Linked DNA regions of Homo sapiens: regions 1, 3, 4, 5, 6 and 7 are each linked to region 2. The links are contacts of gene promoters, found by promoter capture Hi-C in blood cells and fetal thymus (Javierre and others, 2016). All regions are on one chromosome and are shown on one strand. The core of a region is centred on a gene start or on the middle of the fragment in contact, and the rest is flanking DNA. Distances in the headings are between cores, read along the strand shown. Region 1 has its middle 370 kb from the start of KCNJ2. Region 2 holds the start of KCNJ16 (potassium inwardly rectifying channel subfamily J member 16). Region 3 has its middle 350 kb from the start of KCNJ2. Region 4 has its middle 12 kb from the start of LINC01483. Region 5 has its middle 390 kb from the start of KCNJ2. Region 6 overlaps LINC01483 (long intergenic non-protein coding RNA 1483). Region 7 has its middle 270 kb from the start of KCNJ2.

Evidence for each region. Contacts are between HindIII fragments. The CHiCAGO score rates a contact against its expected background, and 5 or more counts as called.
Region 1: a fragment that was not itself captured here is called in contact with the fragment with the promoter of KCNJ16 in region 2 in 1 of 17 cell types (neutrophils); the score reaches 5.7 in neutrophils.
Region 3: a contact is called between a fragment that was not itself captured here and the fragment with the promoter of KCNJ16 in region 2, in 1 of 17 cell types (neutrophils). The highest score is 5.4, in neutrophils.
Region 4: a contact is called between a fragment that was not itself captured here and the fragment with the promoter of KCNJ16 in region 2, in 2 of 17 cell types (M1 macrophages and M2 macrophages). The highest score is 7.4, in M1 macrophages.
Region 5: a fragment that was not itself captured here is called in contact with the fragment with the promoter of KCNJ16 in region 2 in 1 of 17 cell types (monocytes); the score reaches 5.7 in monocytes.
Region 6: a contact is called between a fragment that was not itself captured here and the fragment with the promoter of KCNJ16 in region 2, in 1 of 17 cell types (M2 macrophages). The highest score is 6.2, in M2 macrophages.
Region 7: a contact is called between a fragment that was not itself captured here and the fragment with the promoter of KCNJ16 in region 2, in 1 of 17 cell types (neutrophils). The highest score is 6.3, in neutrophils.

The regions. Positions count from the first base shown.
Region 1 is chr17:70,537,263-70,540,009 of GRCh38, reverse strand. No RefSeq gene overlaps it. Among named protein-coding and RNA genes, the nearest start is that of KCNJ2, 370 kb to the right of the region's middle. The HindIII fragment of the contact is 8,674 bases long and covers 1-2,747 here.
Region 2 is chr17:70,073,836-70,076,573 of GRCh38, reverse strand. KCNJ16 (potassium inwardly rectifying channel subfamily J member 16) reads right to left here and starts at 1,349. Exons shown (of 4, transcript NM_170741.4): 1 at 1,184-1,349. LOC105371881 (a long non-coding RNA gene) reads left to right here and starts at 1,767. Exons shown (of 3, transcript XR_934952.3): 1 at 1,767-2,738. The HindIII fragment of the contact is 12,238 bases long and covers 978-2,738 here.
Region 3 is chr17:70,516,627-70,519,613 of GRCh38, reverse strand. No RefSeq gene overlaps it. Among named protein-coding and RNA genes, the nearest start is that of KCNJ2, 350 kb to the right of the region's middle. The HindIII fragment of the contact is 6,123 bases long and covers 1-2,987 here.
Region 4 is chr17:69,580,526-69,583,409 of GRCh38, reverse strand. No RefSeq gene overlaps it. Among named protein-coding and RNA genes, the nearest start is that of LINC01483, 12 kb to the left of the region's middle. The HindIII fragment of the contact is 4,683 bases long and covers 1-2,884 here.
Region 5 is chr17:70,556,511-70,559,210 of GRCh38, reverse strand. No RefSeq gene overlaps it. Among named protein-coding and RNA genes, the nearest start is that of KCNJ2, 390 kb to the right of the region's middle. The HindIII fragment of the contact is 5,974 bases long and covers 1-2,700 here.
Region 6 is chr17:69,599,341-69,602,136 of GRCh38, reverse strand. The region is part of intron 2 of LINC01483 (long intergenic non-protein coding RNA 1483); the gene reads right to left. Among named protein-coding and RNA genes, the nearest start is that of LINC01483, 6.8 kb to the right of the region's middle. The HindIII fragment of the contact is 276 bases long and covers 1,387-1,662 here.
Region 7 is chr17:70,433,467-70,436,214 of GRCh38, reverse strand. No RefSeq gene overlaps it. Among named protein-coding and RNA genes, the nearest start is that of KCNJ2, 270 kb to the right of the region's middle. The HindIII fragment of the contact is 8,246 bases long and covers 1-2,748 here.

The DNA of each region.
Region 1 (2,747 bases), core at 59-2,558, 460 kb before region 2:
GCAACACGGTGAAAACCCATCTCTACTAAAATACAAAAAATTAGCCGGGTGTGGCAGCGTGGGCCTGTCGTCCCAGCTACTCGGGAGGCGGAGGCAGGAGAATTGCTTGAACCCGGGAGGTGGAGAGGTGGAGGTTGCAGTGAGCCAAGATTGTGCCACTGCACTCCAGCCTGGGTAACAGAGTGAGACTCCGTCTCCAAAAAAAAAAAAAAAAAAAAAAAGAAAGAAATAAGAAGTGGAGGTGGAAGTAAAAGGAATGTAAAAGGAATGCATGGATAGAGCAGACTTTGATTCTCCCACAAGTACCTGTTGGCAGAGCTTTTGCATATATCTACATAAATTATGCAACCATTTGTGTGCATTCTGGTCACCAAAATAAAGAAAATAACTTATCAAACATTTAAATATATGAGAAAATTCCTAACGTTTTTCATCAATGGAGTTCTGTATCCATTATCATGTGAATAACTTTATGTACAGTGATCTCACACACATTTTTTAAGTAAAACATTCCCCTCTGCTATTTTGGAGACTCATATCTTCTAAGACGTGTTCTGAGATGAAGAAAAAGTTGTAGGTTGAAGGTTCTGAGATGAAGAAAAAGGTTGTAGGATGAAGCCGAGATTCTTCAATGCCTTTGCTTGGCAATTTGTCAAACATGTTGTGCAAAGGAAAACTTCTCAAGATGTGGTTGGAGAAACTGATTTTGTAGAGGAAGCAAACAGAAATAACTCCCACATTCAACGACAAGAATAGTTAGTTCAGTCCTCTCAGTCCTGTTTTTGCTCATTCTGCCAAAATCAAGAAGCTCCAAGAAATACATTTTTGAAAACCTAAAGAGAAATCTCTCTTTTTTTTTCCTACTGCTTTACATTTGAAATTCAATTCCATCTTTTCTTAGGCTAAGTAATTAAAATGCTACACGCAAACATGGATAAACCTAGCTTGATATTTTGGGTCAATAAAATCAGAAATAGGAGAACAACATTCAAATACTAACTTTAGGGTCACACTTGTATCTTCTATGAATATTTGTCTACATTACTTTTTAATTTCCACGAAACATGGTCATATTCTTTCCTTAATGGATCAGATACTTTTCCAGGAAATAATTCCCAGCTATTAGCCAACAAGAAAGGCAAAAGTGAAATGGCAACATCAAAGAATCTCAAATAAGAAATTACATTTTTCTGCTGCAGATCAAATAAAATTAAGTCATTTGACACACTGCATTCTGAATTATGATGCATATCTTTTTCTCTTCCTGGTTTAAGAAGCGGTTTTTTGAAAAATATTACAAGGCCAGGCACGGTGGCTCATGCCTCTAATCTCAACATTTTGGGAGGCTGAGGCAGGAGGATCACTTGAGCCCAGGAGGTCCAGGCTGCAGTGAGCCATAACCACGCCACTGCACTCTAGCCTGGGTGACAGAGTGAGACTGTCTCAAAAAAAGGAAAATAATTTTAAAAGAAATATTACAATATTTTAATTTTAATGTTATTTTTGCTTATTTGTTGTTCAAGAGGCAATTATAGCAATTTGTTTCTAAATGTAAAGGTTATGCATGTTATTCAGTTTCATGTTATCGTTCAGTTTCAAAATCAAGACATCTACCTCCTTTTTCTAAAGATGATTATTTTGCAATAAATATCCTTAATGAAGAGGGATTTAGTGGCAAAATACATATGAAACTAGTAAACTCTCAGCTTTTTAAAAATGTATTAGATTAAAAAATTTCACTTCCTATTGAATTGTCACCTAAACCAGCAATATGGTTTTTTCTAGTTTAGAAGCAAAGTATACATGTGTTTTCAAAAATGTATTTGGATTTTGTTTTGCATAAGGTATTCTGAAGCATTTATTTTAATAAAACAAAATGAAGTAAAAATAATGAATACCTGCCTGCTTTGAAGCACAATATGTATGAAATACTGGAATTTAATGACCTCCCTATAAAAAGGTTGGCTAAATTTTCAAACTGCCAAGTTATGTGGCAGAGTTTCCTGAAATGGCAATGCTTATCGGCTTTTACTATTATCTTGGATTACACCCCCCTTTCTCTTGCACCCCTCTGCAAAGCAACTTCAACATTATCCTCTGGGGCAATTGAACCATGCACTATACACCTGAAATTGTCCATGGATTTTTAAGGAATTTGCCTTTTAAATTGAGGGATAGAGAAAGAAAATCTTGCAAAACAAAGACAAATACCTATGTGGGAAGGAAACAGAAATGATAGCTTGCATCTTTGGTCTAGATGAACATCATTTACTCCCACTGAGAAGTTACACTGGGAAAGGTATGCAACCAACCAGAAAGGGAATCAACCAGAATTTTAAAGATATTAGCTACATATATCTGCATCAGCCACCGCTATGGTGAAACAATAAATGCTTTAGCTTATCTAAAACACTGTAACTCTGGCTTTCTTTTTGCTTTGTCTTTCAGTCTTTCTGACTTCACTAAATTGTTGAGAAAAGAAGATGAGTTGACTGACCTGCCTGTTCATGAAAGGAAGGCTCTGATAAGAACAGACCTATAAAAGTTTTCTTGGTTGCAAATGACACTGGCGGCCAAGTCCTCCAAAGAAGAAAATCTAGGCTGAGAGTGGCTTATTGTTTTTTTACTGAGTATAGGTCCCAGAATACCTTCTTAGTCATGACAACTTGCCAAGTCAACAGCTATGTTTGCCCTTCAGCTTCCTTCAAATTTACCACCATAATATGTTCTATCAGAGCCAATATATA
Region 2 (2,738 bases), core at 100-2,599:
GTCTTGTTGTATATGAGACTAATAATCTTAGATTTATCACAATTATCGTGTTCTAAAAATAAACAAGCAGGATTACATCTCTAAGTTACTCAGGCTCTCTTTCTCTTTCTCTCTCTTTTGATTTGAATTGAACTCTGGACCTTGTTCACTTTTAAATTCTTTTTGGCTGAATTTCAGGAATTCCTTAAATGTATTCTGCAAAACAGCTGTGGTTTGGGTACTTCATGTTCCTTTATTGGTTAAAATCTGACATAAAGAGTGGCTAGTCTACATTTCCCATACTAAAGTAACAAAGGTGCATTCATACATTTTTTTCTTCTTCAGGATCTGGCTCTTACTAGCCATAAGAGTAATATTTAGCAGAAATACTCCAATACTCTTTTTCTAAAGACCATTCAGTCCATGTAATACACATGATCAAAATTCATCTGGCTTATAGAAATGTTATTGTTTACTACCTAAATATACCAACAAGGAAAACTGTTCAATTATATATGTCAGAGAATTCGTGGCATCCAGAGAGCAAAGTTTTACAAGCTCACACTTTTCTGACTAAATACTCAAAACAAAATTTTAAGATTTTTAAATGATAAGAAAAAAAAAAAAGCTTTAGAGGGATTAAGGTGAAAACAAAAGGAGAAAATTCTTCACTTTCAATTTATGTTAAAATAAATCTAGAAAAAATAGATCTCTTATTTCCTTTCAATGATTATAGACAACTATAAAAAAAAGTTAACGTGTATTTTCTCTGAGCTTTTTAAGAGGGGGGTATAAAATACATATTTTTCAATATTTGCAATTATATGTTCATAAGTGCATACAGGATGCAAAAATCTGGTTTTGAAAGACATTGCAGAATACTCCATGTGGTATGAATATAATAAAGCCACTTTTAGACATTTACAAATATAATAGCAGGCAAGGGCTGTTTAACAGACTCTGTAAACACCAATGTGAGACTACTTTTAACCAAAGCTTCAAAATAACTTAAGGAATATGACACACTGTTTGATTCCTACTTAAAGCACTTGGATAAAAAATTAAATTATCTTAATTGCATTTAATTGATCATTAATATTTACGTTTGCTGGAAACAGAGTGTTGCTGCTCCCCAAACACAGATGCCAGCAAGAGCAAAACATAGGCTGAATGACATTGTATCCATAGCAATAATAGCACTTACCTTTATTCACTCTCCCCACAGAGAATCTATGAGCTAGGTGCTTTCAGCTGGGCAATGGTAGAGAATGCTCTTTAGTTAATAATAAAGGAAAGAAAAGCTCCAGACACCAAGAACCTGGGTTAACCATTGACACCGGTTTGTTCCTACAGTTCCTCCCTGGGAATCTACATAGGTAGCCCCTGGCGTCTTATCAAGCAAGCCATAGCCAGTCAGCTGTGGCAGTGATTACGTCACCACCTCTGTACCTCTGGAGGAGGTACAGTGTGAAGGTCACCCAAGTATATCCTGACTAAGTTTTTACTTGATCAGGGATACAAAGGAGGAAGATTTGCTGGGCCAGAACTATGCTCAACAATGCCTGTAAGTGACTCAAATATTTACAGACAGGATTGTTGAGAGACGACCTATGGAAATGCTCCTGCTAGTTTTCAGACTCTGTTGGAATAGTACAAATAAATCCCTTTCATCAGAACTCTTTGTCTACATCTTAACAGCTGAGGATTGGGATTGCATGCTGACGAAAAGCGAGACAGGATAATGACAGGTAGCTAAGCATCCATTCAGTCTTTTATTTACCAAACCTTTAATGATTATTTTTCCTGTGCTGCCTAGTTCCAAAGAACATGAGTTCACAGTTGATTAGCCCTCTGACTAATCAACATGGATGGCAGAAATTGGGGTTGGAAAGTCTTCCTTTCCTCAACCCCAGGAATCAGAGCTCGAGCCTGAGATGGTGAATACAATGCAGGCTGTGGTATAGGTTTTGCCTGGCATTGAGTCCTAATGGGTTAAATAAAATGGTGAGGTGATCCCGTGGTCAGTGCTCTCCAGGAGGTAGAAAAGTGAGTGATCAGGGAAGAGGTAGACTTATAATGCTAGAATCAAGAGAAAGATCCAGAAAATGTGAAAAGCAGCCATGGGGAACTAAACAAATAGCAACCCTAGGCTCTTCAGAACCTGGGGGAGTTGTGTCCAGGAATGCTCAATAGAAGTGTTATGCTAGCAAGGAATTAGTTTTTCCTTTGCTTCACAGAGCGGTGGCAGCCAGGGGATCTAGGGAACCACATCAGGCTTGGTTAACACTGCAAATTTAAGAGGCCTTTTCTAGGTTCTGACAATCGTTGCTGTTTGACGGTTGTTAGAGTTTTGTTTCCATTTTTAAAAGCATGAACACTTGAGGAAGTGGACTTCTATGTTGGCACCGCCACTTACTAGCTGTGTGACACTGAGAAACTGCTTAACCTTTCTGCAACTCCATTTTCTCAACTGTCAAATGGGGATGATAATAGCAACAACGACAACACCTACCACAGATAGATAATTCGTGTTCCAAACTCATAGCTGTCACTAAGGTATACATATTCTGATAGGAAGACCTATTTTGCAATCTGTTACACAATATCTGCAGAAGAGTTTGAACTCTCCAAGGGACCTATCTTTTCATTCATCCATAAATCTCAGGTAAGCAGTGAATGCAGAGGTTGCCTTTTCTGTTAAAAAAAAAAATTGAAGACTAAACAAATGCCTACATTTCCATAACAATTGCAGCAACTCT
Region 3 (2,987 bases), core at 355-2,854, 440 kb before region 2:
TTCTTTAAAAAAAATCAAAAACAGGAAATAAAAACATTTTATTAGAAACAACAGCAACAAAAAATTTCCTTGGTGGAATGCTTGACTGCTGGTCTTGTCATGACGTCATAAAATCACTCTTGCTTTTGTGGAAATGGTTTTTCCACAGTGCAAAGATCTGATCTGGTTTATTTCAAAAGGTCAGGCTTGATTTTTGAACACCAATGTCTGTCTTTCTGTCTGTCCACCAAAGCACTGGACTTCATTTTTTATGTGAACAAAATGAAAATGAATGTGGAAGAAATGTGGAAAGGGATGAGCGGTACGTCATTCTTCGCTCTTCCAAGAAATAAAGATATTCTTCCACGATGGTTGAGGGGCAAACAGTTGGTAAAATTCCAGAATACCAAGTCACAAAGCAGAGGTACTGGGGATTTTAGATGTTGATAGAATCCGGAGTGAAAAAAAAAAAAGTTGGCTGCAAAGGAAGAGGAAAGGAAAGAGAATCCTGTGACAGTTACTGTTCCAAATAATTCCAGTGGCCACCCTTTCCTCACCCACCCTCGTGTAGAAAAAAATGGGGAAAAATGCAGACCGCTGGGCAGCTCATCTCAGCTTCTTTGGGCTGAAAATCTATGGTGGAAATTTCATATAAAAGTGTTATTTTATGAGATTATCTGTCTTTTATTTTTATTAAAGTGGCCAAACATTCCCCTAAATAGACCTTTCCCTGGAATCTTGGAGTTTGGATTCCTGTCCTGGAAGCAAAATGCATAGAGACTGATTAAAGTGGAAGACACACACACACACACACACACACACACACACACACACACGCGTCTCTAAACATTACCCAAACTTTGATTTTTTTAAAAAATTTTCTGTCTTAGATAGTTCCACTTCATTCTTTTTCATTCAAATCCTGAAGAATTCTAAAATATTTTATATCATAAATTGGCCTGAAAGGAGTCTATGTTGTGTATATTAGTTTGGCATTATACAGAATCCCAAGAAATAAGATGTATTTGCATTTATTTCTAAAAGGTACTTATACTTCAAGGCTGGGCACAGTGGCTTGCACCTGTAATCCCATCACTTAGAGAGGCCAATACAGGAGGATTGCTTGATCCTAGGAGTCTGAGACCAGCTTGGGCAACAACGTGAGGCCCCGCTTCTACAAAAAATTTAAGAAACAAATTAGCCTGGCATGGTGGTGTACGCTTGTAGTACTAGCTACCCAGGAGACTGAGGCAGAAGGATCAACTGAGCCCAGGAGGTCGAGGCTGCAATGAACCATGATGGCGTCACTGCACTCCTGCCTGGGCAACAGAGTGAGACCCTGTCTCAAAAAAAAAAAAAAAAAAAAAAAAAGTACACTTTCAGAAAGACTTCCAAAATTGTATCAGGCTTCCTTTGTTTTAGACCTTTAAAAGGTAGAATGATATTTATACATTTTAATTTGTGATCTGTTACTACCAAAGCATTATAAAGACATAAAGTCCTAGTTTCTATTAATGTCTCTTTATTTCAGCAATGATTGATTTTTCTAACTTTAAAATTCCCCAACACAATAAAAGACACACTGTCTTGTCATGAGTCATGTTATCACTGTGATTCAGGAAGTTTATTACAAAACTAACTAAAGACACACAACATATACAAGGAAATGATATGCTTGTTTAAACAATTGCAGTTAGGAAAAATGGGGAAAATACATTTGTTTGTCATTGGTAAACAGCAGTCTCAAAACACAGATGATCAATCTTTGAAATAAATAGTAATTCTGAGAACTATAAAGATAGGAGAACAAATTTTCTTTCCATCCATCCTCTGGACAATCATTTTCCTAGACTCTTCAGAAAATAATATGTTGGATGTTGAAGATGGATGTAGTACATATGGGAACCAATAAGGCTAGATTGGAAAATGATCTTAGACTTTTTTCACATTGGGTATTGAACTGTCCTGTAATGTCATAAAGAAGGATGTGTGAAATCCAGCTGCTGAAACAACGTCTGGTGGCAGGACTACTCCTGCACTCCCCTGCTATCTCTCTACCCAGTTCTTTTATGCACTTGCCTCTTTGATCCTCTCATTTTTAAATCCCCTTCCACTTAAGGTATCTTTGCATCATGTCTCTATTACTTATTAGTGTTCATCTTGGAATATCTCAGTTTTGAATTGTGTGTGTGTGTGTGTGTGTGTGTGTGTGTGTGTAAAAGAGAAAGAGAGCAAGACAGAGAGAGATTCCTGCAGTATATCTAAGGTCCTTAATATGACACCTGGTCTGGTTCAGAGCAATGAATAAAGAGGGATCATACTAAATCCCGGAACAAAGCAACAGAGTGTGGTGCTATAACCACGTGGCATGAAATTTCTTTCTGAGCACCCATCTTGAAAGGGTGGGAACATAATTGATAGTATCTTTATAAATCAGGGACCTAAGTGCTGGTGGAGTAACCTTCCTCATGAAGATTCCTGGGAAACAGAGAGTGAGGTATTCATTGGATTTTCATTGTATAAGTATGTCAAATGATGGTGCTAAAACCAAAAATCACTACCTGGGTTCTTTTATCTTTCTTTTAATTTTAATTTTTAGTTTTGGGGTACTTGTGCAGGATGTGCAGGTCTGTTACACAGGTAAATGTGTGCCATGGTGGTTTGCTGAACCTATCGACCCATCACCCAGTTATTAAGTCCAGCATGCATTAGCTATTTTTCCTAATGCTTCCTTTCCCCACCCCACACCCCAACAGGCCCCAGTGTGTGTACCTGAAGTTCTTCAGTGTTATAAGGGTTAGGTACATGACCTGATAATTCCAACAATACTTTCCCACTTGTTTCCACTCTAATTTTTACTATTTTTTGCTGTCCTTTCAACCTCTATACCCCACTGTCTCGGTTAGGCAACCTAAAATAACATACTGGAGGATGTTATTAAAGAAGAATTAGACCACTGGGAAGTTTATATTCACATTTACTGTGGGGTTCTTTGGGAATTTAAAAGC
Region 4 (2,884 bases), core at 113-2,612, 490 kb after region 2:
AAGATAAGAGGGAGAAAGGAAACTAACACCCTGCCCCTCCTTTATGACAAGCCTAGTCCTGAGCTCTAGACCCCTAAGCCTACTAGTTATTAAACAACACTGTGAAATATGGATTATTATCCCGATACACAGACCTGGGCAACTGATTTGTCCTCTTGGAGTCTCAGCCAATGTGAGACAGAAGTGAGGCTTAAGTTAGTCTGTCCAGCTCCAAAGCCTGCCTAGAAGCAAGCCTCATATCCAGTGACAGAAAATGCCATCCAACACAAAAAGCAGAAACCATAAAGGAAAAGATGAATATGCCTAGCCACTTAAAAACAAAGGAAAAAAACATTGTATGGCAGCAAAAATGCAAGTGACAAACTGGGAAGATATTTGCATATATAAGAGAAAAATAATTAATACCCAATAGGAAAGTGATTCTTATCAATCAATTAGTAAAAGATAACCTCACAGGAAAAAACAATGGGAAAGGATTAAACAATTCATGAGAGACAGATTTAAATAGCTCACAAATATACACAAAGATACTCAAGTTACCCAATAACAAATAGGACAGCCAAAGTAACAAAGATTGAGAAGCAGGCAAACAAAACCCTCTGTTGGCAAGAGTTTGAGAAAATGGAAATTTATATACACCTTTGTAGAAACTGTAAATTGGTACTGTCTTCCTGGAGAAATGGGTGTCTGTAGTTGATAATAATATACTGTGTACTTGAAAAACTGCTAAGGATGTAGATGTTAAATGTTCTCACAACAAAAGTAAGTATATTGTGGTAATGGAGATGTTAACTAGCTTCATTTAACCACTTCACGACGTATGCATATATCAAAACGTCGCATACCATAAATATATATAATTTTCATTCATCAGCTATAACTTAATTTTAATTTAATTGTGTATGCCTTGAGTCAGTAATTACACATTTAGAATTTAATCTGAATGATAATGATAGAAAAGTTCACTCATAAATGTAGGAGGAAATTAGTGGCACTAATATTGATAATACCTCTCCAAAAATAATATCAATAGGCAAGTGGTTGAATTATAATAGCCCAAAAATGAATTCCGATATTGAAAAAGATACTGCATGCTCATATATTTTTCTATTTTTATATATTTCTATTTCATTTGAATATATATAGATACATATATATTCATTTCAGAATCAGAAAAAACAAACTATAATTTTCGAGATCTTTAATATACCTAGCACTTTACAAAATTTGCAAAGCAATTTCTCATATTTTATTTCATAGTAAAAACTAAGTTTTCTGTCCAATGATGTTATAGTGTGATATGATTTCATGCTGAAAGCAATACTTTCTCGTTTTGCCTGTGAATTTCTTTTAATTATTTCAAATATTTAAAAGTAGGCAGGCTGCCCAGGTGTTTGGGTTCAGCAACCATGATCAAAAGGAGAGGGAAAATGTGGTTTTCTTTTATTGCATTTCCCTTGAGCATCTTCAAGACCCTTTGAAAGAACAGCTGCCTAGCCCAGGCAACCTCTCTTCTTAGCCTACACGGAAGAAATGAAATTCACTCCCAAAGTGCGGGTGTTTTCAGGACCCAGTGAACTGGAACTTGCAGCGTCTTCTGCAAGCTCCGTTGGGCCGGCCTTTCATGTGAGCAGGAAGGAAATGACTGACAACTTTCTCGTCTTTATGGAAGGCGGACTTTATTTCCAGCTCTCAGGTCAAAAGGCGGCGGAAAGAAAACAAAACCACTAAGAGATAAAGGCTAAAAATAATGTCCTGTGGGGTGAATCAACCCAGTTTGGGACCCTGAAGACAGCAACAAGGCAAGGATGTGCGTAGGGCTAAATCTGCGTCATCCTTCACAGGTGGTCGTGACCAGAATCAAAATGCCTGGGCAAGAGAGGAAGAAGTTCTGCAAACAGGTGTGCTGGAGGGAAGGCGTGGGGAGGGGAGAGGAAGAAGCCATTGAGTCGATCCTGGGCTTGAAGCCCACACACTTTCCCAGCAGTTCACCTCCGGGAGAGCCCAGGGACTGGACATGGCCTCGGAAGGAGCTAAAAGTTGATTTGGGGTTTTGTGGTTTGGGTGAATGCACTTTCAGTTTAAAATATAAATAGATGTGTTTATGCAGTTGGGCTTTCTTTCTCTTTGCTTTTAATTGTCACTTTAGAAGAAATAAGTCTATGATTCACAGGCTAATGCCAAAAAAAAAAAAAAAAGGAGTTCTCATTGGGTGATTTCCTACTTTATAGGAAGCAATGGGAGAATGGGTTTAAAAGTCACACGAAAGACATCCGCTAAGGACTTTGATGATGAGTATAAGAATGATTCATTTTATTTATATAGCACTTTAATTGTGTTTTTAGTCACATTCTAATTTGGACACACAACTATTCCAGGAGATAGATAAGGTGATTATTATTCATCGTATTTTACAAGTTAGAAAACAGAGGTCAGATAAGTTAAAGATTGCACGTTCCCTTATAGACTGAGCTATAATACACACACACACACACACACACACACACACACACACACACGAGGCAGAATCATTATCATTATTTCCCTAACTGCACCACTGGGCAAACCTCCAAAGGGGAAAACTGGTATTAGATGCTGCTAAGGAGAATAGCGCAAAAAAAAAAATACTGAGTACAAGAAGTATGAGAAGGATTCTAGCCTACATGGATTTAAAAACAAACTAAATCCCAACGGGATTTGAGCAGTGCTACCTTACAAGGTCTTTCCAACTGGCTGCTAAATATTTCCACCAGAATGTGCCACTAGTCCTAGATACCACGTCTATATGTACTAAACAAGACTGATCATCTTTCTTTATCCTTCTCCTTCCTTCCATTTCTATGTTAATGATGTCACTGTTTTCCCAGACTCCCAGACTCCAATG
Region 5 (2,700 bases), core at 58-2,557, 480 kb before region 2:
AGAAACATCACATTAATAATTATAAAAATCTCATCCATGATAGAATTAGTTATACAGAAAACAGATATTCAGATTCGGTTGTATTCCAGGCACAAGACTTTACAGTGGGGATAAATAAGGTCCTTGTCGTCACAGTCTGAGTCCGGTAAACATACAAATTGATTAGTACTTACCAAGGAATGTGGTAACTGCTAAGCTGAAGGAAACACATGGTGCTTTGGGAGGAAGTAGGAGAGATCTCTAACCAGATTGGGGAGAACATGTAAGAAGGAGACCAAGTGGGGAATTTAATGAATAATAAGAAAACTGTGGATAATTAGTGAGGTGTACATGAATATATAAAGGTTTGGGTAAGGAATCCAAAAGAAAGATAAGCCAAGAGAAGTCAGAGAAGTCGATATGAAAAATTGGGTTAGCCATGTTAAAGATTAGGCGGATGTTATCTGTTTGAAATGGTGAGCCTTTTAGAGTATAAACTTTTTGGGCATGAGATTTTTATGATTATATTTTTGTTTTAGAAAGACCACTTTAGATGCCATCTTTAAAATATGTATGCATATACTCAAATGCATATACTTAAGTAGCATCAAAGAAAATGTCTCATGATCACTTTCTGTCACTAGCATTTCTCCCTTTAATAGCAAAGAGTAATTTTGCACAACTTTGTTTATTCTATAAGGGGTATTATACAATATGTACACTCTTGAGTCTGGCTTCTTTTACTCAACATGATGTTTTGAGATTCGTCCATGTTGTTGCATACAATTACAAATAATTTACTGCCATTGTTGGATATTACTCTAATGTATGATTAGACAACAATTTATATATCCATTCTATTGTCAATAAATATTTGGGTAGTTTTTACTTCACAGTGGACTGTTACAACTATTAATTTTAATCCTTTGAAATAAAAATAAATCTTGGATGTCACAATATTTATAAGTTCAACTTTCCTCCAAGCTGGCCAAGCTACCATGTGCCCACACCTTGGGCTAGGGTAGCAGGCCGACCCACCTCCAGCACTCAGTTCATTCCCCAGGGGCCAAGCTGCTGCATCCTTATGTTCTCAGCCAGAGAAACAGCCTAGCAAACGCATCCAATGTGGCCTTTCCTCTGAATTGGATACCCTGCCACACGTCTGCATGTCTGTACCCCTGGTAAGGGAAATATCTCAGTGACCTTACTCTGATGAGAATTTACATGTCTGTGGCCTGAGAATCAGCCCAGTAGGCCCAGTAGGGCCAGCTGGCAAAGCTACACCACCATGATCACAAACTTCCACAGCCTAGGCCACTTAGACACTTGCAAATATCTTGTTAACATAAAATATAACCTAAGAAATTGCATGAAAACTAAACTATATTACTGTGTCAACCCAGAACCAAAACCAGTGCATCTTACCCAGCCAATATGCTAGAGCTCATCTACAGGAATAAGTCTTTTCCTACAAAAGCTACTCCATAAAACTGAAAGGGACAAGTTTGCCACCAGATGTGCAGATATCAACATAGGGACATAAGAAACATAAACAAGCAAAAAAAAAAAATGACAGCTTCAAAGACACATAATAATTCTCTAGTGACAGACCCCAAAGAAAATTCATGAAATGCCAGAAAAATAATTCAAAAGAATGATCTTAAGGAAACTATACAGGATACAAGAGAATACAGATAGAAAATAGAGCAAAAAAAAAAAAAATGATTTGGGTATTTGGGTCAGGCACGGTAGCTCATGCCTGTAATTCCAGCACTTTGGGAGGCTGAAGTGGGCAGGTCACTTGAGGTCAGGAGTTCCAGACCAGCCTGGCCAACATGGTGAAACCCTGTCTTCACTAAAAATGCAAAAATCAGCCAGGTATGGTGGCACGCGCCTGTAGTCATAGCTACCTGGGAGGCTGAGGCAGAAGAATCGCTTGAACCCGGTAGGCAGAGGTTGCAGTGAGCCGAGATCGCGCCACCATACTCCAGCCTGGGTGACAGAGTGAGACTCCATCTCAAAAAAAAGAAAAAGAAAAAATTCGTGATTTGAAAGAAAAATTCAACAATGAGATAGATACCTTTAAAAGAACTAAACAAAAACCTTGGAGCCAAAAAACATAATAAAAAACAAAAAAAATTACAATCAATAGCTTTAATAAGAGACTAAATCAAAAAGAAGAATTTCTGAACCTGAAGACAAGGCTTCTAATGTTTATGGCCGCACTATTTACAACAGCCAAGATATGGAAATGACCTCAATGCCCATCTACAGGTGAATGGAAAAGGAAAATGTTTATATATATATATATGTGTGTGTGTGTGTGTGTGTGTGTGTGTGTGTGTGTATATATATATATATATATATATATATATATATATATATATGTAAAATAACAAATTAGAAAACCTAAAGGACATAGGTAAATTCCTGGATACATATAACCTACAAGACTGAACAAAGAAATAAAAAGTTTTACATATAGATGTGATTTTATATATACATATATAATTATATTACTTTCCATAATGGCTATACACACACACACACATATATATATACACACACACACACATATATAAACAACTATATTATAAATACATATTACTCCATTATATATAATTATAATATAGAATGGAATATTCAGTCATTAAAAAAGAGTAACATTCTATCATTAGTGGCAATGTGGATGAATCTGTAGGACACTGTGTTAAGTGAAAT
Region 6 (2,796 bases), core at 275-2,774, 470 kb after region 2:
AAAAAGAAAAGAAATACCCAAATCTGCAAAATGAAGTATTTTGAGTATTCACCAGCAAAGTATATGCATGTCTAGGAAACCTCACAGTTGAATTTCAGGGAATATATCATAGCTTTGCACGATTTTTTAAAAATCGTACTTTCCTTTAGAAATAATTTTGTTTCTGTCTTTTTGTTTGTTTGTTTGTGTGAAATAGTCTTACTTTGGAGTGCAGTGACATGATCTTGGCTCACTGCAGCCTTGACCTCCTAGGCTCAAGCGATCCTCCTGCCTCAGCCTCATGAGTAGCCAGGACTACAGGCCCATGCCACCACACCCAGCTAATGTTTTGTATTTTTAATACAGACAGGTTTTTGCTATGTTGACCAGGCTGGTCTTGAACTCCTAACTTCAAGTGATCTGCCTGCCTCGACCTCCCAAAGTGCTGTGATTACAGGAGTGAGCCACCATGCCCAGACTTGTTTCTGACTATTAAAGCAACCCATGGCCATTGAGAAAATTGTAGGTAGTATCAAAAAGTAGTAGGAAAAAAATAATAAACATCCATAATGCTATCAAAAAGGGTAGCTACAAGAAATATCTGAACGTATCTTTTTGTAGTAATTTTGTCATCAACATATTCATCCATAGCTGATTTTATGAGCATACACTGTGTAGTCAGATAGGGCCACACACTCAGAAGAATCCCATTCTTGGTTTAATCCTCTCCTATCACCGTCTTGAAATTCTTAATAATTTTTGAAAAAGAGATTTCAAATTTTTATTTTGCAAAGAGCCCTACAACTATGTAGCCAGAGTCCTGAATGCAGGTATGTCTGTTTCTTGGTACGTATCTGTGTATAAAAACATGGAAGCCAGGCACGGTGGCTCACACCTGTAATCCCAGCACTTTGGGAGGCTGAGGCGGGCGGATCACAAGGTCAGGAGATCGAGACCATCCTGGCTAACACGGTGAAACCCCGTCTCTACTAAAAATAGAAAAAAAAAATTGGCCTGGCGTGGTGGCGGGCGCCTGTAATCCCAGCTACTCCAGAGGCAGAGGCAGGAGAATGGCGTGAACCCGGGAGGCAGAGCTTGCAGTGAGCCGAGATCGTGCCACTGCACTCCAGCCTGAGCGACAGTGCAAGACTCCGTCTCAAAAAAAATATATATATATATGGAAGTAGCTATATATGTATGCATGCATTAGTATCCCAAGCATATTTAGAATTATATACTTTATTTACATATCTTTATGGTTACCTATATTTTATCTATGAGCATGTCATGTTTTAATTAACTATTCCATTCCTCTTACATTTTCAGGCTATTTACATGGAGAGATGCTTGTCCTCAAAAGTTATCATAAGATGTGCTACAATTTTAAATACAGTGTTCAGAGAAGCTTTGCTAATGAGATGACACTTAACTAAAGGAGAAAACTCTCTAGGAATCTGAAGGCAGAATGTTCTAGGTAGAGAAAACAGCAAAAGGAATGGCCCTAATCTAATAGGTGGTTAGATATATTCAAGTCAAAATACAACTGTGGAAATTGGATTGAGGCAATATCCCCTAATGTAATCCACAGATGCCATATGTCAAGAAGAGTTAATGGATCAGGGATGGAGGAGGATGGGGAAAATAATTGAATAATAAAAATGTGATTAAAGGAAGAAGGAAGCTTGCTTGGATTAACCATACGTATACTAACAACTCAGTCTTGTGGACATGAGGTCAAACAACAAAACAATGACAACCAGAGCAAAGGTATCTAGGATACTGGCAAAAAAAGTGAGTCAAGAAATGAAATGTGTGAAGCTAAGCTAAGCAAGAAGAGAAGTAAAGACCAGAGGGAACTGATAGAAATGTTCAAAGGACCAGAGGTCATGAGAGGACCAAAGAACAGGTATAATAGGAGCTCCTGTTAGGAGTTAACCAGAAGCTAAGTGATCAGAGTTAGAGAGAGGGAACTCTGGGTTTCTGAAGTGGAACAACTCGAATTGTCAACATGGCCCAAGGTACAGTCATTGAAAGTGGTATAGAGGAGGTCATTGCGTTAAAGAGGTTATCAAAATTAACAACCAGGGAAAGGAACTCAACAATTGGCAGATTTATTTTTATTGCTATTATTATAACTCATCACAGCATTCTTAAGGACTGCAAGGAAAATATAAAACTATATGTAGAACAGAATCAGAGTCTTAGCAAACAAATGTTATCTTACAAAAGTAGTAGCAACAGGTTCTGTCTCCAAAGCGAGCTTGTATTCAAATCTATGGTGTCCGAAAGAACAGAAGAGAAAACAGGATTTCAGACAGATCATGTATTAGACCATTCTCACACTGCTATAAAGAAATACCTGAGAATGGGCAATTTATAAAGGAAAGAGATTGACTCACAGATTCACACATCTGGGGAGGCCTCAGGAAACTTATGGTGGAAGGGGAAGCAGGGACATCTTACATGGCGGCAGGTAAGAGAGAGGAGTGTGTGTGAAGAAGGAACTGTCAGACACTTATAAAACCATCAGGTCTCGTGAGAACTCACTCGCTATCCCAAGAACAGCATGGGGGAACCGCCCCCATGATCCAATCATCTCCCACCAGGTCCCTCCCTTGACATGCGGGGATTCTGGGGATTACAATTTGAGATGAGATTTTGGTGAGGACACAGAGCCAAACCACATCATGCCACTAATTATGCTTTTTCATCTTTACTGATTTATATGGAAGGTGCTTCTCTGTCTTTATCTATTTGTTGCTAGTGTTTTTAATGAGGAAATTTCACAACTGATGGTGCAAGAAAAAAGAATAATTA
Region 7 (2,748 bases), core at 18-2,517, 360 kb before region 2:
AATGAGAACACATGGATACAGGGAGGGGAACATCACACACCTGGGCCTGTCGGGGGATGGGGGGCTAGGGGAGGGATAGCATTAGGAGAAATACCTAATGTAGATGAAGGGTTGATGGGTGCAGCAAACCACCATGGCATATGTACACCTATGTAACAAATCTGCATGTTCTGCACATGTATCCCAGAACTTAAAGTATAATTTTTTTAAAAAAAGTAATCTTTCTCCCCTAGTCTTCTGCTGCTGTATTTCACATTCTAAATTTACCTTCTCAGTTATCAAGATTGCCCAACCAAAGCCTAGTTCTACCATTGTTCTAAGACTTCTATATTGATTCCCCTGTCATCTGCATAAAGGGCATTCCTACCAGATTATCAGCTGTCTTAGCTCCTACTTGACCAATGAAGCTGTGCCAGTATTCTGACAACTTGTTCTTTACTCCAAGTTTCCTAATTTATAAATCAGGCTTTCTTACAGAGAGCAAGCCATTGAAAATAAAAATTTCCTGAAGGATCTTACTCAAAAGAATATTCTTGGTTACAATAAAGATTCTTGGTTACAATCCACAGAACCTGATTATGGTCAATTTAAGAAGAAAAGAAATGAATTACAGGGATATGGGTAGTTCACAGCTTAGAGAACCAGGTGCCAAAAATGACTGACAATCAATGTAGGCAAGAAATATGAGTATTGCCCAAGGTGGAAGAAGCATGGGCACAGTCACCCCGAGAACATTCTCGTTAGGTGACTTTTGGTGGTACCACACTTCTGGTACTGCCGCCATTAAATGCTAAAGCCCATCACATCTAAAGTCCTGGTGCTGCTGCCTTTGCCACACACCTCACAATTCTCACAGCAACTATTACCACTGTCACCATGAATAATGTTTATCCCCATAAAATTAAAGTGCTCTGCCAAGATTCAAAGTCCAGGGTGGGTGCAGCTGGTTGGCTTGTGCTCTAGCTGTCAAGGGTGAGAGGAGTGGCGTTTCTAGAAAGGGAACTGGGGTTCTGGTTTTTACCCAGATTCAGACAATGGGGAATTTCTTAGAAAAAGGAGAATGGTCTTCAGATGGGGTACACCCACTCATTCCCTCCCAGACCAATACTACAATTGGACTTGTGGATGTCAGAATAATGGCCCTCAAAGATGCTTATATCCTAATCCCTGAAACCTGTGAGTATACTACACATCGTAACATATGTAGGATACATACTACATGGCAAACGGAAATTAAGGTTGCAAATGGATTGAAGGTGGCAAGTCAGCTGATCTTAAAATAGATTATCCTGGATTCTCTGGGCAAGCCTAACATAATCATAAGGGTCTGTAAAAGTAGAAAAGAGTCAGAAAGGAAGGTCACAGTGATTGTCACATGAGGAGCTCTTTGAAGGTGGAGGAAGGGGTCTGTGAATCAAGCCATGCAGACTGTTTCTAGAAGCTGAAAAGGCAAGGAAGCAGGTCCTGCCCTATAGCTTCCAGAAGGAAATGCCGCCCTGTCAACACCCTGAGTTGAGCCTAGTAAGACCCATGTCAGACTCTGACTGCAGAACCATGCGGTAATAAATTTTGTGTTGTTTTAAGCCACTAACTTCGTGGTAATTTGTGACAGCAGCAACAGAAAACTAATGCAGAAGTCTTTGACTTATGTTCTTTTGGAGCTAATTAAATTTTCTATCCCAGGTGGCATTTTTTGTTTTCCTAAACAGCCATTAACTTACATTTAATTAACAGACAAAGACTTAGGCTATTTTGTTGCTATGGATTTTCCCCTTATAATTGCGAGAAGGGATTCCAGTTTTAATACCTACTCAAAAATTATATTTCTTACAATAATATTTAACCAATGTATGAAAAGAGCTTAGCACATTCAAAAAGCAAAGAACAGCTTCAGATAACAGTGATGCTAAACAGGCAATCAAAAGATTATTTCAAATACTCAGTACTATAGGGCAGTCTAGCTCTTAAAATTTTTATTAAATGTTTAATTGACTAAAAATAGCTGTATACATCTATGGGGTACAATGTGATATTTTGATATATGTATACATTATCAAAAGATTAAATAAATCTAATTAATATATCCATCAGCCCACCTACTTATCTTTTTGAATGATCTTTAATATCTACTATTTCATTAATTTTGAAATATACATTGCATTATTATTAACAATGGTTACCATCCTGTGCAATAGATCCCTAATTTTACTCCTCTTAACTGTAACTTTATGCTCTTTAATCCCTTTCAATGAAAGAGAGCTGTGTTTGACCTTATAGACTTTTAAAATTTCTCAATTCCTTTGCAAGTTACTGATTTTTAAAGGGCAGAAGGGGGCAGGTAATGATTTCTTATAGAGACCAAATAGTGAAAAATGGTGAAGACAGTTTTTCCTGCTGCCCCCCCACAATTGCCCACCATAAGTTATGAATTGTGGAGTGCGTGATTTGGTAAATTAGAGACACATATGTAGTTTTAGAAAGCTATTCATCCTTGGTTTGATTCACTATTATGGTTTCTTGATCAGTGATCAACAAATTTTCTGTAAAAGGCCAGATAATAAGTATCTTTGGCCTTACATGCCAGAAGGTCCCTGTCATAATACTCAGTTCCATTGTAGCAAGGATACAGCAATGTTCAGTACACAAAGGAGTTTGAGGTGCAGCCTAGATGTCACAATTTCTAATAGTTCCCATGTCATTCTAACTTGCACCCAGGGTTAATAAACACTGCCTTAAGAAATGGCTCCT